Regions from separate parts of the Homo sapiens genome. Here all the other regions are linked to region 3. The links are contacts of gene promoters, found by promoter capture Hi-C in human tissues and cell types (Jung and others, 2019). All regions are on one chromosome and are shown on one strand. Each heading gives the region's core, a stretch centred on a gene start or on the middle of the fragment in contact. The rest is flanking DNA. Distances are from core to core; before and after follow the strand shown.

Region 1 (4,546 bases), core at 862-3,361, 280 kb after region 3:
ACCAAGGATGCTGCAGCACTGGAAGCCAGGGGACAGGATGAAGCAGACCCTCCAGCAGAGCCCCCAGAAGAACCCCCACTCCACACCGACAACACTTTGATTTCAAACTTCAGGCCTCCAGAAATGTGACAGAATACATTTCTGTCATGTTTGAGCTGCCAAGTTTGTGGTGATCTATGATATCCTTAGGAACGAATTCAAGGCATCAACGACAGCGCATACTTTAAAGGGCGGGGAGGGGGGCCACAGTACAATGTGGGTCTGTACTTTTTTGCGATAAACTGTGTTCACAGCAGGACAAAAAACTTGGGATTTTTAGGATTTCACAGAAATTGCCTCATAATCAACCACAATGTTGAAGCTAAAGTTTGTCTGAAACCTTCCTCATCATGCAAATCTTTTATTAGCTCGTCACCTGTATGTGGTGCTGTGCTGGCAGAAAGTTAGGCTGAAACAAAACCCCCTTTGGAAACATAGTAACGCTGCACGGGCTGACATGGATCCCCGTGGATGTGCCCACCAGACACATGGGACCATGTGAGACGAACAAGACATCATCTGTGTCTGCTGGTAGTTATTTACACACATACTTTTTTTTTTTGGTATTTGTCATGTTTTCTTAGTGTATGGTAAAGGATTTTACCACTATGTGGTCATTAAAAAGAATGTCATCATCCTATAAGCATCAACACTGAGTTACTGCCAAGTGAAGGAAATTGTAGAACAACATGCATAAAACGGTCCTATTTGTATAAAAGAATACATGCCCTCCCACAGGTATCTATGTGCAAGAAACAGGAGCAAAGCAAGATACAGAACTCTACATCCTATATGAAAAAATTTACATGATCCAACCCCGTATTTGTAAGTATCTGCATGCCAGTGACACTATAGACCCAACTCTCAACAATAGCTACCTCTGGGAGTGGGTTTTTTTAAAGTAATGTGAGCTTATTGTAAATAAATAACTGAATAAGTACACTTCTTTGTACTTCTCTGAACCACATGCAATGGGCCAGATAGTACATATTTTCAGCTTTGTGGACTACGCTGTCTCTGTCTCAGCTACTCAAGGCTGGTATGGGCTAAAGCAGACCTAGAGACTATGTAAATGAACAGACGTGGTCCTGTGCCAATAAAGCTTAGGGAGTAAGTGGAGAATGTTTACTTTTTACCTGATACCAAGATTGGCAGCCCATAGGTGAAACCTGGCCCACTACCTGTTTTTTGTAAATAAAGCTTTATTGGAACAGAACCATGTCTGTTCATTTACATAGTCTCTAGGTCTGCTTTAGCCCATACGTAGCTGAGACAGAGACAGCATAGTCCACAAGGCTGAAAATATGTACTATCTGGCCCATTACATGTGATTCAGAGAAGTACAAACAAGTGTACTTACTCAGTTATTCATTTATTTATTTACGATGAGCTCACACTACTTAAAAAAAAAAACTTTTAGAAGTTGTCTGCTCAGACAGTGGCAGGGGATGCCTGGACAATCATCAACAATCTTCCTAGAAGCAGGTGGGAACTTGGGAGTTTTTAGGATGAGACAAGAAAAGCTCCATAGGCATGGGAAAGGGAAGTTGTTTAAAAACAAAGTGAAATAAAGGTTTGAGCAAAAATCTTTTGAATATCTACTCAATCCCCACACACCCTGCCTCCCTGTAATGGCTTTAATATTCCAAAAGACTTTGAAAGATAGCTTTGGTTTGTACAGCAAGCAGAGAAGTAGTTCAAGAGGCAGCCTGGGGGAGGTGCAGAGGGGATAGAGAAGCACTGAGCTGCTCTGAGGTCTACTTTTGCCTTACTAACCAATGGGCTGTGTGTTCCTAGGAAAATCACTCAGGTTTTCTGGGTCTCAGTGTCCTCAACTCTCAGAGGTTTAGACTAGATTAAATCTGTGGAACTTTCCTGCTAATGATATTTCTGGGAGTCCTAAGCAGGTATCACCTTGAACACAGAAAAGGAGGTAGAGAAGAGATCTTCCTGGTTGGTGCAAGGCCAGGTCCGGGAACCAGCCGGCCAGGTTGCAGCCTTTTTTCCCCGCCCAGCACATGTTGGGTGTGAGCGAGTGCAGATTAGGCAAGGCCCCAATTATCCCTCGGCTGGGAGAGGCAAGTGTGAACAATGAATCAGTCAGAAACTCCTTTCCAATATCCTCATCACACAGACAGTTAAATTGCAAACCACAAGACATATTTATTAATGAGTACATCCAAGGCCATCAGGCCATTTAAGAAGTTGTATTAAAAGGGCAAAAATCCCTCCAATCTTGCTCAGGGATGGTTAAAGGGTTCAGGGGTCCCTGCTCTTTGTGATGGATAGAGGAGCCAAATGACACATCAGGGTTCGCCCACAGATCCCTCATACATGCCATGGTTGAGCACTTCTCACTGGTCCTACCCCCAGTGCTGAGGGCCTTTTGAGTTTTTGACATCCATAAATAACCTGTGGGTACTACCTCCCTGCTTAGCTCACCACCAACCCAGGAAAAAAGGAACCAGCTGGGTTACCCCCAAACCTGGGTGAAACTGGATTATGTGCCAAGGAAAGCTTTGACGGACCAGTCTGGCAAGGCTGCAGCCTCTGCCCTGTTGGAGCTGTCATCTGGAGTTGTCCTGTGCTGGAAAATTCAAGCTGTAAGACAACAAGGGACTCCATCCCTAGAGGCCAGCACAGGCTTCAGGCTCATGCCTGAAGACTCCCACTGCAGAGGGTACACCCTCAGCTGCTGAAGCCTCTGGGCAGGGCCATAGTAAACAGTCTCCACCTCAACTCTCTATAGACAGAAGTCTTAATCATTTTAGAATTGGCTCCATGGAGTCACAGCTCCAAGCCAGCTTACAGCATTACATTTATATGTCGACAAGGGCTTCTGATCTTGGCCTTCTGTTCTGCAGTGGAACATCCTGGGGCCAATCAACCTCACAAACACCGGTGTCAAGGCAGGTGATGAACAGCACTTGGTTATATTAAAAATGTAGAAGAACTCTGTCAGGTTTAAAATTCTTAGGCATTTTCCTAGTCTTTTCTGCTTGAAATTGCTACCTACAGTTGTCATGGTGGTTTCCTTGGTGTAAGTTTCATATTCTAGGGGAAATCAGTGCCATCGTGGGAGCTAAAAAAAGGAGAACTCATTCCCAGGGCTGCCAATTGTAACCCTGGATTAAAGTGCCATGTGACTCAGCAGCTGCTTAACTTTTGACTAATAGATTTGTTTACATAAGAAGAATGAGAGGGTTTAAGCAATCAATGACGTCCTATCGGTTAAAAAAAGAAAAAAAAGAAAGAAAGAAAAATGACGTAGGCTGGGTGTGGTGCTTCATGCCTGTAATCCCAGCACTTCAGGAGGCCAAGGCAGGAGGACCACTTGAGGCCAGGAGTTAAGAGAGCAGCCTGGGCAACATAGTGAGACCCTGTCTCTAAAAAATAATAATAAAAAAAAATTAGCTGGGCATGATGGCATGCACCTGTAGTCCCGGGACTCAGGAGACTGAGGCAGGGAATCTCTGGAGCCCAGGAGTTTGAGGCTGCAGTAAGTTATGACTGTGCCACTGTGCTCCAGTCTGGACAACAGAGTGAGACCCTGTTTCTAAAAAAACAATAAAAATAAGTGACTTAAGATACAGCAGCTAGTTATCCTTAGAGATGTCACTGGATTATGAACTGATAGGCTCATGTTTATGTTTATAAATAGTATAAATAATATGTATAAGCTCAAATAATAGGGATGAGAAGGGAGGAGGTGAGGTCTTAGGTTTCATTCATTTGGCAAAAGCCTGTGATGAACCTGTGGGTCAGGCACTGGACACCTGATGAGGAGGAAAGAAAGGCTGTATAATCTGCGCTACCAAGAAGAAATCTGTATTCAATTCCTGGCCCTGCAGTAATCATCTGTACGCCTTTCGGCAACTGCTCTGGGCCTCAGTTTACTTACTTGCAAAACAAAGATGAGAGTCATACTCAAGCCATAGAGTTGATGAAAGGACTTTGATGAAGTATGCTTATAAAGTGCTAAGGCAATAAGAACAAACAATAATTACAACCATAACCACCTTTATTACACATTCCTGTCCTCAAGAGCTTAGTATGCAGAGCTTAGCAAACAGGTGACTGTAACTGGATAAGATGGTTAGTGTAATGTACAAAGTGAGGTGGGTGTGGGGAGAAAATTCTCCAAGGCTACTGTCTTGGGGAGTCAAAGAGGAATCACAGGAGAGAAGCTCTTAGACTTAAAAGAGAGTAGAAATTTACTCGGTAGTCAACCCCCCTCCTTTCCCCGCTCCTTCTTTCCTTCCTTCCCTCTCCTTTTCCCTCCCATTCATCCATCCTTCTATCCATCCACTCATCCTCTTATTGGGCACCAACCTTCTATCAGATGATGTTTTAGTTTCGGGGATATGATAGTACCTGTCATAAGCATACATTCTTGCAATGAGTGACAGATACTAGACATGGATACAAGCAGATAAGAATTCCAGATAGTCGGGGAACAGTGCCATGAAGAACCTAAAACAGAACCAGGGGAGAGAAGATGGCCTAG
Region 2 (4,145 bases), core at 1,159-3,658, 430 kb before region 3:
TAGCAAAGGAGCATTGCTCTCTATCCCACTCCATACACCATAACAGGAACAGGCAAACAGGTGGCAGTCCGTGGAGTGCCACTACATTCAAACAAGTTCAAAGCCATCACACACAGGAGCTAAGGAAGAGGCTGCCACAAGATTCTCAGGCAGCCCCAGTAGTATCCTCTAGGAACTGATTATCAGGATTAGCACCCAGAGTATAACTCATAGCCTAGGAAGGGAGCAGTGCTTTTGAAGGAGCCATTGGGGAATGGGAGGGTAGCAAGACTAATTTAAGAGATTGTGCGCTGGGCACGGTGGCTCATGCCCGTAATCCCAGCACTTTGGGAGGCTGAGGCGGGTGGCTTGAGGTCAGGAGTTCAAGACCAGCCTGGCCAACATGGTGAAACCCTGTCTCTACTAAAAATTCAAAAAACTCTGGGAGTGGTGGTGGGTGCCTGTAATCCCAGCTACTCAGGAAGCTGAGGCAGGAGAATCGTTTGAACTCGGGAGGTGGAGGTTGCAGTGAGCCAAGATGGTGCCACTGCACTCTAGCCTGGGTGACAAGAGGGAAACTCCATCTCAAAAAAAAAAAAAGAGAGAGAGAGAGAGATTGTGAACACAGACAAAACTATTTACAAACAAGTTCCTTCATTCTTTTGTCGGTGAAGCAAATCTGCTGCCTGTTAGTCTTGACGCTGTCATCTGAGCGGACGGTTAGCAACATCTCTCTCACTGAACCAGGAAAGGGTGACAAAGTATCTCCATGGACCCCTTGAGGGATAAATGGGTGGGTTGAGGGAAGGAGTGCTCATTGTCTTTTGAACATTTAGCTGTTGGAAAGGGAAGAAAGGAGTTGCAAAAAATGGGTGAACAATGAACAGTGGGGTTTGAATCCCGGCAGTGTCTGTACTCACCTCCTTGTAGTCAGAGGTGCTGTCCTGGGAGAGAAAAGAGAACTTTTAACAACTACTCTTTTTTTTTTTTTTTTTTCGAGAAGTGGAATAGCTCTGTCCTCTGTGCCCTCACTAGGAGTCAGACCCCTGGATGGACTTGCCAGATAGGGAATTAACCCATTTTCCATCTGGGAACCTGGCTCTCCTACGACTAAAGAAGGTATCTGGAGTACATGGCAGGGAATGGCATGAAAGAGCGCTCTCCTGTGAGTAGGAGATGAGCAGTTCTTACTCAGGGTCACTCAGCTTCTATAGGTTTCAACTTCCGATTCTCCCTAAAGCCACATGAAACCTTCAAATGTATCCTTTCTGTTCATGTCTCTTGGGCCATCAATTTATTCTACGTGCAGGGGAGGAGCAGATACTGCGGTGTGTTTATTGTCCAACAGGAATCACCAAAGACATTCCATAGGCTGCTAAAAGGCTGTTCATGTGTTACACCACTAACTTGAATCTGGAAACTGCAGTTCTGAACTGTAAGCCATTGTTTGGCAACTGATGTAAGATACATAGGTTTCACCAAGTATTTGTATCAACACATTGCTAGTCAGAATGAATAATCTGTATTGATGGATGTGCTCAGTGCCTGTGTGCTCACCCTGGGAGTGCTGAAGAGTTAGTGTGCCGTGCTCTCTAAACTCTTTCACTCACTTACTACTGGGCTGCTCTGTTGCTGTCAGCTCACTGCCTCATTTTATGGTTAATACAACCATTTTACACTTTACACCACCATGAGGGATTGATTCTTCCACTGTTGTACCTCCAGGCCCCAAACCCAAGCTGGGGGAAGTTCTGCTGTTTTATTTTTTATCTTTTTATTTTTGAGACAGAGTCTTACTCTGTTGCCCAGGCTGGAGTGCAAAGGCATGATTTCAGCTCACTGCAACCTCCGCCTCCCGGTTCAAGTGATCCTCCTGCCTCAGCCTCCTGAGTAGCTGGGACTACAGGTGTGCACCACCACGCCCAGCTAATTTGTGTATTTTTAGTAGAGACAGGGTTTCACCATGTTGGTCAGGCTGGTCTTGAACTCATAGCCACTACACCCAGCCAGTTCTGCTGTTTATATATTATATCAAAAAGCATTAGATAAATACATATTAATAAGTAAAATAAACATATTAGCTCAAAACATTTTCTCACCTGACATATCTTAATATTATAGCATACATCCATTGTGATAATTAGCTTGAAAAATATGATCATGTCCAAGCCCTGGCAAACCATGCAATACTTTGAAAAAAAAAAATAGCAATGAAGCTAACAGACTCATAGAATCTTCCAGGCAGGACCTAAGATCAATTACTTCTCATTCTAGTGGAGGAAACTGAGATGCAGGATAGTGGACTAAGTTGCCCAGTGTCACAAAGTTAGTGGCAGAACCAGGCCTACCTAAATTATAGTCTCTGAACACTAAGTCAACAGCTTTCATTACTATACTGGCTGATTAAGCAATATCTCTTTTCAAAGAATACTAAATAATTAGAAGTTGTGTGATCATATCTATGGCCCGGGGACAGGGCCAAGATGGCTGACTAGAAGCAGCAGCATTTGCAGGCTCCCATTGGGAAAAAACATAATAAGCGTGTGAATCCTTCACTGACAACCAAGGTATCCAGGTTCTCTCATCAAAATTGACTAGAAGCTGGTGTGACCCACAGAGGGAAGGAAGAGCAGTGTGGTGTGGCAGCCCACCTGAGAGCCACACAGGGAAGGGGAACCCCCTCCCCCCAGCCAAGGGAGGCAGTGAGTGAGCGTGCTGCCCAGCAGGGAAAACTGTGCTTTTCTCACGGAACTGTGCAACCCACAGATCAGAAGAGCCCACTTGTGAACCCACACCACCGGATATTCAGGACTTTAACTCGGCTCTGGATCAAGTGGACCTAGTAGACATCTACAGAACTCTCTACCCCCAATCAACAGAATATACATTCTTCTAAGTGCCACATAGCACTTATTCTAAAACCAACCACATAATTGCAAGTAAAACACTCCTCAGCAAATGCAAAAGAACTGAAATCATAACAAACAGTCTCTCAGACCACAGTACAATCAAATTAGAACTCAAGATTAAGAAACTCACTCAAAACCACACAATTTCATGGAAATTGAACAACCTGCTCCTGAATGAATCCTGGGTAAATAATGAAATTAAGGCAGAAATCAAGAAGTTATTTGAAACCAATGAGAACAAAGAGACAACGTACAAGAATCTATGGGACACAGTTAAAGCAGTGTTAAGAGGGAAATTTATAGCACTAAATACCCACATCAGAAAGCTAGAAATATCTTAAATGGACACCCAACATCACAATTAAAAGACCTAGAAAGGCAAGAGCAAACTAATCCAAAAGCTAGCAGAAGACAAGAAATAACTAAGATCAGAGAAGAATTGAAGGAGATAGAGACATGAAAATCCCTCCAAAAAATCAAATGAATCTAGGAGCTGTCTTTTGAAAAAATTAACAAAATAGATAGACCACCAGTAGACTAATAAAGAAGAGAGAGAAGAATCAGATAGACACAATAAAAAGTGATAAAGGGGATATCACTACTGACCCCACAGAAATACAAACTACCACCAGAGAATACTATAATGCAAATAAACTAGAAAATCTAGAAGAAATGGATAAATTCCTGTATATATACACCCTAACAAGACTAAACCAGGAAGAAGTCAAATCTCTGAATAGAGCAATAAGAAGCTCTGAAATTGAGGCAGTAATTAATAGCCTATCAACCAAAAAAGTCCAGGGCCAGACAGATTCACAGCTGAATTCTACCAGAAATACAAAGTGGAGCTGGTACCATTCCCTCTGAAACTATTTCAAACAATGAGAAAGGAGAGCCTCCTCCCTAACTCATTTTATGAAGCCAGCATCATCCTGATACCAAAACCGGGAAGAGACACAGCAAAGAAAGAAAACTTCAGGCCAATATCCCTGATGAACATCAAAGCGAAAATCCTCAATAAAATACTGGCAAACTGAATCCGGCAGCACATCAAAAAACTTATCCACCACAATCAAGTTGGCTTCATCCCTTGGATGCAAGTCTGGTTCAACATACACAAATCAATAAATGTAATCCATCACATGAACAGAACCAAAGACAAAAACTATATGATTATCTCAATAGATGCAGAAAAAGCCTTTGAAAAAATTCAACATCCCTTCATGTTAAAAACTCCCAATGAACTAGGTATTGATG
Region 3 (4,530 bases), core at 1,186-3,685:
GAGGTTGCAGTAAGCTGAGATCCAGCCACTGCACTCCAGCCTGGGCAGTAAAGCGAGACTCAGTCTCAAAAATATTTCTCTGGGGTCCCCTTGGACAAGAGGGGGTCCTTTCAGTCAGTGGAGGACATGGGGTTTTATTTCTGAGGGCATTTACTGTGTGCAAGTTACCAGGCATTGGGCTGCAAAGATGAATAAGGCAAGCTCCTGGGAAGCAAGAAGCTTACATGCCCCTTAGAATGATTGTAATTCATAATAACTTTATTTTTTAAATCCTTGTAAATCTTCACAAAGGAAGGGATGTCATGGATGACAAAAGTAGCTACCCAGCTTTCTGCATAAAAAGCCTCCACCCCTGCTGGTCACCCACTCAGCACTCAGCACTCACCAGGGCCTGCACCACCTGCCTTCCCTCCTGCCCAAGTGCACACCCCGGACAGACTGATTATACATTGATGTGAAGAAGTCTGAAGCAACAGGTATCTTCACTGTATTTATGCTTTCAGTTCTTCATAATCACAGAATGAAAATGTGAAATACCTCCCCCCCCCCCGCCCCCAATTAAAGACATGCCAAATACTTCAGGAACAACCAGGATTGAAATTTGGCTTCTCCAAGGTAAGCCTGATAAGGTCAAAGTATGCTGGTACCTGTTAAACAGCATAAGGGGTACAGGGAGAGGGTTGTCAAAGGTAGAATTTCCACTTTCTTGAGGACCTGGGGTCTGCCCTTGTTGGACATCTCTGGAGCAGCACAGGCCACTCACCCCATTTGACTATACAGCACTTAAAAATGTGGCGAGTCCAAATTGAGATGTGCTTGTGAGTATAGAATACAACAGGATTGGCCAGGCGTGGTGGCTCACGCCTATGATCCCAGCATTTTGGGAGGCTGAGGCGGGTGGATTACCTGAGGTCAGGAGTTTGAGACCAGCCTGGCCAACATGGCAAAACCCTGTCTTTACTAAAAATACAAAAATTAGCCGGGCATGGTGGTGTGCACCTGTGATCCCAGCTACTCGGGAGGCTGAGGCAGGAGAACCATTTGAACCTGGGAGGCAGAGGTTGCAGTGAGCCAAGATCATGCCATTGCACTCCAGCCTGGGCAACAGAGTGAGACTCTGTCTCAAACAAAAAAAAAAAAAAAAAAAACAAAAAAACAGGACTTTGAAGACAGCATAAAACATCTTTATTGATTACATGTTGAGATAATGTTCCGGATGTTTAGGTTAATACTGAAATCCAGCTTGCTGTTTCTTTTCACTTTTTATTAAATGTGACCACTAGAACATTTAAAATTACACACGTGGCTTGGTCAGTATTTCTCTGGGGCAATGCTGATCTAGAGGCAGAGACCATCCCTCCCCAGCAGTTAGACCTCAAGACTAACTGCTGTCCCCTGTGGGGATGATGTGGTGGTACATTATGTCTGCTGCTCTGGTGTGGCCCTGTTTTTATTTTTGGGTGCTCAGTAAATGTTACTGGGAGAAATGAATTACAGGAAAAATGAGTCCTTTCCTAGCCTCCTTCAATGAGGTTTGCAACATTAAAGTCACCACGGGCCACTTTCACTGGAAGCTGTCAGTGTCGGAGGTTTGGAAATTAACTGAGAACTACAGACAGGAAAGGTGTAAAGCAAATTATTTTCCTATCAGATTGACATTTACAAGAATAATGGGAAGGAGCATGGAAAAGAGGAAGCAGGTCAACCTTCCTTGAGGACAATTAGATAATAGGCATCAAAAGTCTTAAGTTGTATAAAACCTGTATCCTAGAAATTTACCTTTTCGTAGTTTATTCTAAGGAATTAATTGGACAAAAGCACAAAGACATCTAATTGTATTATTAAAATGGAAAGTTTAATATTCAACAATAGCAGATAGGTTAAGTACATTAGGACATTATGAAGTGGCTTAAAACGGACATTCAAAAAAAGGAAATGGAAAACCTGAGTAATGTACAGCTTGTATGGAATGAACTAAAAATATATAAATTTTTGCATAGGTAGAATGACATTGGAAGAACATACACCACAATGTTAACTGATTATCTCTGGGTGTTGGAAAATGATTGATTTATCAACTTTTTTACTGTTATTTCTTTTCTTTTTTTTTTTTTTGCAATGAACAGGCATGCTCTGGCAGTTTTTAAATGAAGTATGGAAATTATGGATTGTGCAGTCATAGTCAACGTTCATTGAGAGCTTACTTTATATAAAGCATCATGCTCAGCATTGTGCTTTGTGGCATTTGATTTTTTAAAAATCAAACGCCCTCCAATCTTAAGCAAGGATGATGGCCAAAAGGTCGGCTTATTACCCAACTGCAACAATAGGAGGGACAGGTAATTAAAAGGCAATTGCCATGACAAATAGAAAAGATGCCAAAGTCAACATTTTTTCAAGGAGCTATAAAGCCCGTGGAGGAGTCAGCTGACGGCACAGTGTTCGCGGCTGCACCGCTCGGAGGCTGGGTGACCCGCGTAGAAGTGAAGTACTTTTTTATTTGCAGACCTGGGCCGATGCCGCTTTAAAAAACGCGAGGGGCTCTATGCACCTCCCTGGCGGTAGTTCCTCCGACCTCAGCCGGGTCGGGTCGTGCCGCCCTCTCCCAGGAGAGACAAACAGGTGTCCCACGTGGCAGCCGCGCCCCGGGCGCCCCTCCTGTGATCCCGTAGCGCCCCCTGGCCCGAGCCGCGCCCGGGTCTGTGAGTAGAGCCGCCCGGGCACCGAGCGCTGGTCGCCGCTCTCCTTCCGGTGAGTCCCAGCCCCGAGTTGGCTCTGGCGCCCGGGTACCCGCCAGTGCCGGCTGCCGATGACCGATTCACGCTCCCGGTACTGGGGCCCCCTCTGCCCAGCCACCCCTACCCAGAGCACCCGGGCTGCGCGGCCCCGCCGAGGGTGCGGGCTTTGTTCGCATTGTCTGCGCGCACCTGAGCGCGGCCTTCCTGGCACGGCGGCGTCGGGGGAAGAGCGCACCTGGCGCGCGCCTCCCTCGTGGCCACTCGCGGTCCGTCCCGGGCGAGCTGGCGGGGTTTTGGGAGGGGTGCGGTCAGCAGGTAAGTGGGTAGGGGCTCCGGGTACAGGGGTGGAGGAGGGCATGTATTAAACCCAAGCTGCCCTCCTGGCACAGTAGCGGGGCCCCCTTCCCTGGCGGCCGCGGAAAGGGACTCGCCCTTTGAATAAAGGCTTTGGTGACATGCTCGCTTCCACCCCACACCCCACTACAGGACATACACAGGTGTTAAGGGGACTTGGGGCAGTTTTCCCAGGCAGAACGAGTGCCCCCAGCGAAGTGTCTGCAAGCAGAACCTGAGAGGGGCCGGCTGCCCCGAGAGTCCTCGCGCTTGGGCAGTGGGAAGTCCAGGGGTTTGTCGTTCTGGTGACTTCCCCCACCTGGCTCAGCCCTGCTTCCTGCATGTCTCCTTCCCTTCCAATAAGGCTAACAAAACTTTCCCTAGCTAAGCCGACCTTTCCCTCCCGCCTTGGGCCCTTGGCCACCTGCTGGGACGGTGAATGGGAGAGTCTCAGAATTGAACCTTGAAAACTTGCTGGGGGCACCAGACAGAAGAGAAGGGAGGAGGGCACCTTGCTGCTTGTGATTGTGGAATCAAGGGCTCCAGCTGAAGCTGAAAGGGGACTTAGCAATGGGGACCTCATGCCATGTGTTTGATGTCTTGGAGATTGGAATAATTAGAACGTGTACATTTTTCAAATTACAAGCTGCTTTAAGTAAAACCCCAGAACCTCTAAGTGTTTTATAAATTCAGTCCCAAAAATTCAAGGTCTCTTTTGCTGTTAAGGTGACACTATATTAAGAAATGTCGATTTATTGAAGAGTCAGAGAAGTGAAGAGGTCAGAAAGGTACCACTAGAGTTGGCAAAAGCCACAGGCATGAATTTGTAAATGCTGCTGGCTTTCAGCAGGCTGAAGCCATCCTCTCTTGTGACTGATGGGGGTTCAGAGCTCCTCAGGCCTTACTCTTCTTTTGTAAAATCCAGCCCAGAGCCATCTCCTAGTAGTGTAAGAATTTCTCAGACTAGGTCCCCAGGCAAATCCCAGGTTGGAGAAGAGGATTGCTTTCCTCATCATCTCTGGCTGAAAACCATCAGTGTATTTTCATTAAATCTGGTTTTTGGTCTACCGTACAGAGATTACAGCCAGTATTTCCCCTCTCTTCAATAGGCACAAGCCCCTGGGATATCCGAATCATAGTCAGAAGCCCATGTTTTTACAGATGAGGAAACTGAGACCCAGTTTTAGAGTGTTAGGTTCAAAGCAAAATTGAGCAGAAGGTACAGGTTTCCCATATACCTCCTGTCCCCGCCTATGCACAGACTCCCCCATTGTCAGCATCCCCCACTGCAGTGGTACATTTGTTCCAACTGATGAACCGACACTGGCACATCATTATGACCCAAAGTTCACAGTTTGCCCTGGGGTTTGCTCCTGTTGTACATTCTATGGCTTTGGACAAATGTAAAATGACATAAATCTGCCATTATAGTATCAAACAGCATAGTTTCACTACCGTA

The links. Contacts are between HindIII fragments. The study calls those that stand out against the background at their distance.
Region 1: a fragment that was not itself captured here is called in contact with the fragment with the promoter of VWA2 in region 3 in 1 of the 25 tissues and cell types used here (bladder).
Region 2: a fragment that was not itself captured here is called in contact with the fragment with the promoter of VWA2 in region 3 in 1 of the 25 tissues and cell types used here (thymus).

What each region holds. Positions count from the first base shown.
Region 1 is chr10:114,517,380-114,521,925 of GRCh38, forward strand. The region is part of intron 6 of ABLIM1 (actin binding LIM protein 1); the gene reads right to left. Among named protein-coding and RNA genes, the nearest start is that of AFAP1L2, 120 kb to the left of the region's middle. RefSeq lists an enhancer at 1,529-2,048. The HindIII fragment of the contact is 5,622 bases long and covers 1-4,546 here.
Region 2 is chr10:113,808,932-113,813,076 of GRCh38, forward strand. No RefSeq gene overlaps it. Among named protein-coding and RNA genes, the nearest start is that of MIR4483, 33 kb to the left of the region's middle. The HindIII fragment of the contact is 8,663 bases long and covers 1-4,145 here.
Region 3 is chr10:114,236,819-114,241,348 of GRCh38, forward strand. It overlaps VWA2 (von Willebrand factor A domain containing 2), which reads left to right and starts at 2,436. Exons shown (of 14, transcript NM_001272046.2): 1 at 2,436-2,751. RefSeq lists an enhancer at 2,347-3,055. The HindIII fragment of the contact is 6,749 bases long and covers 1-4,530 here.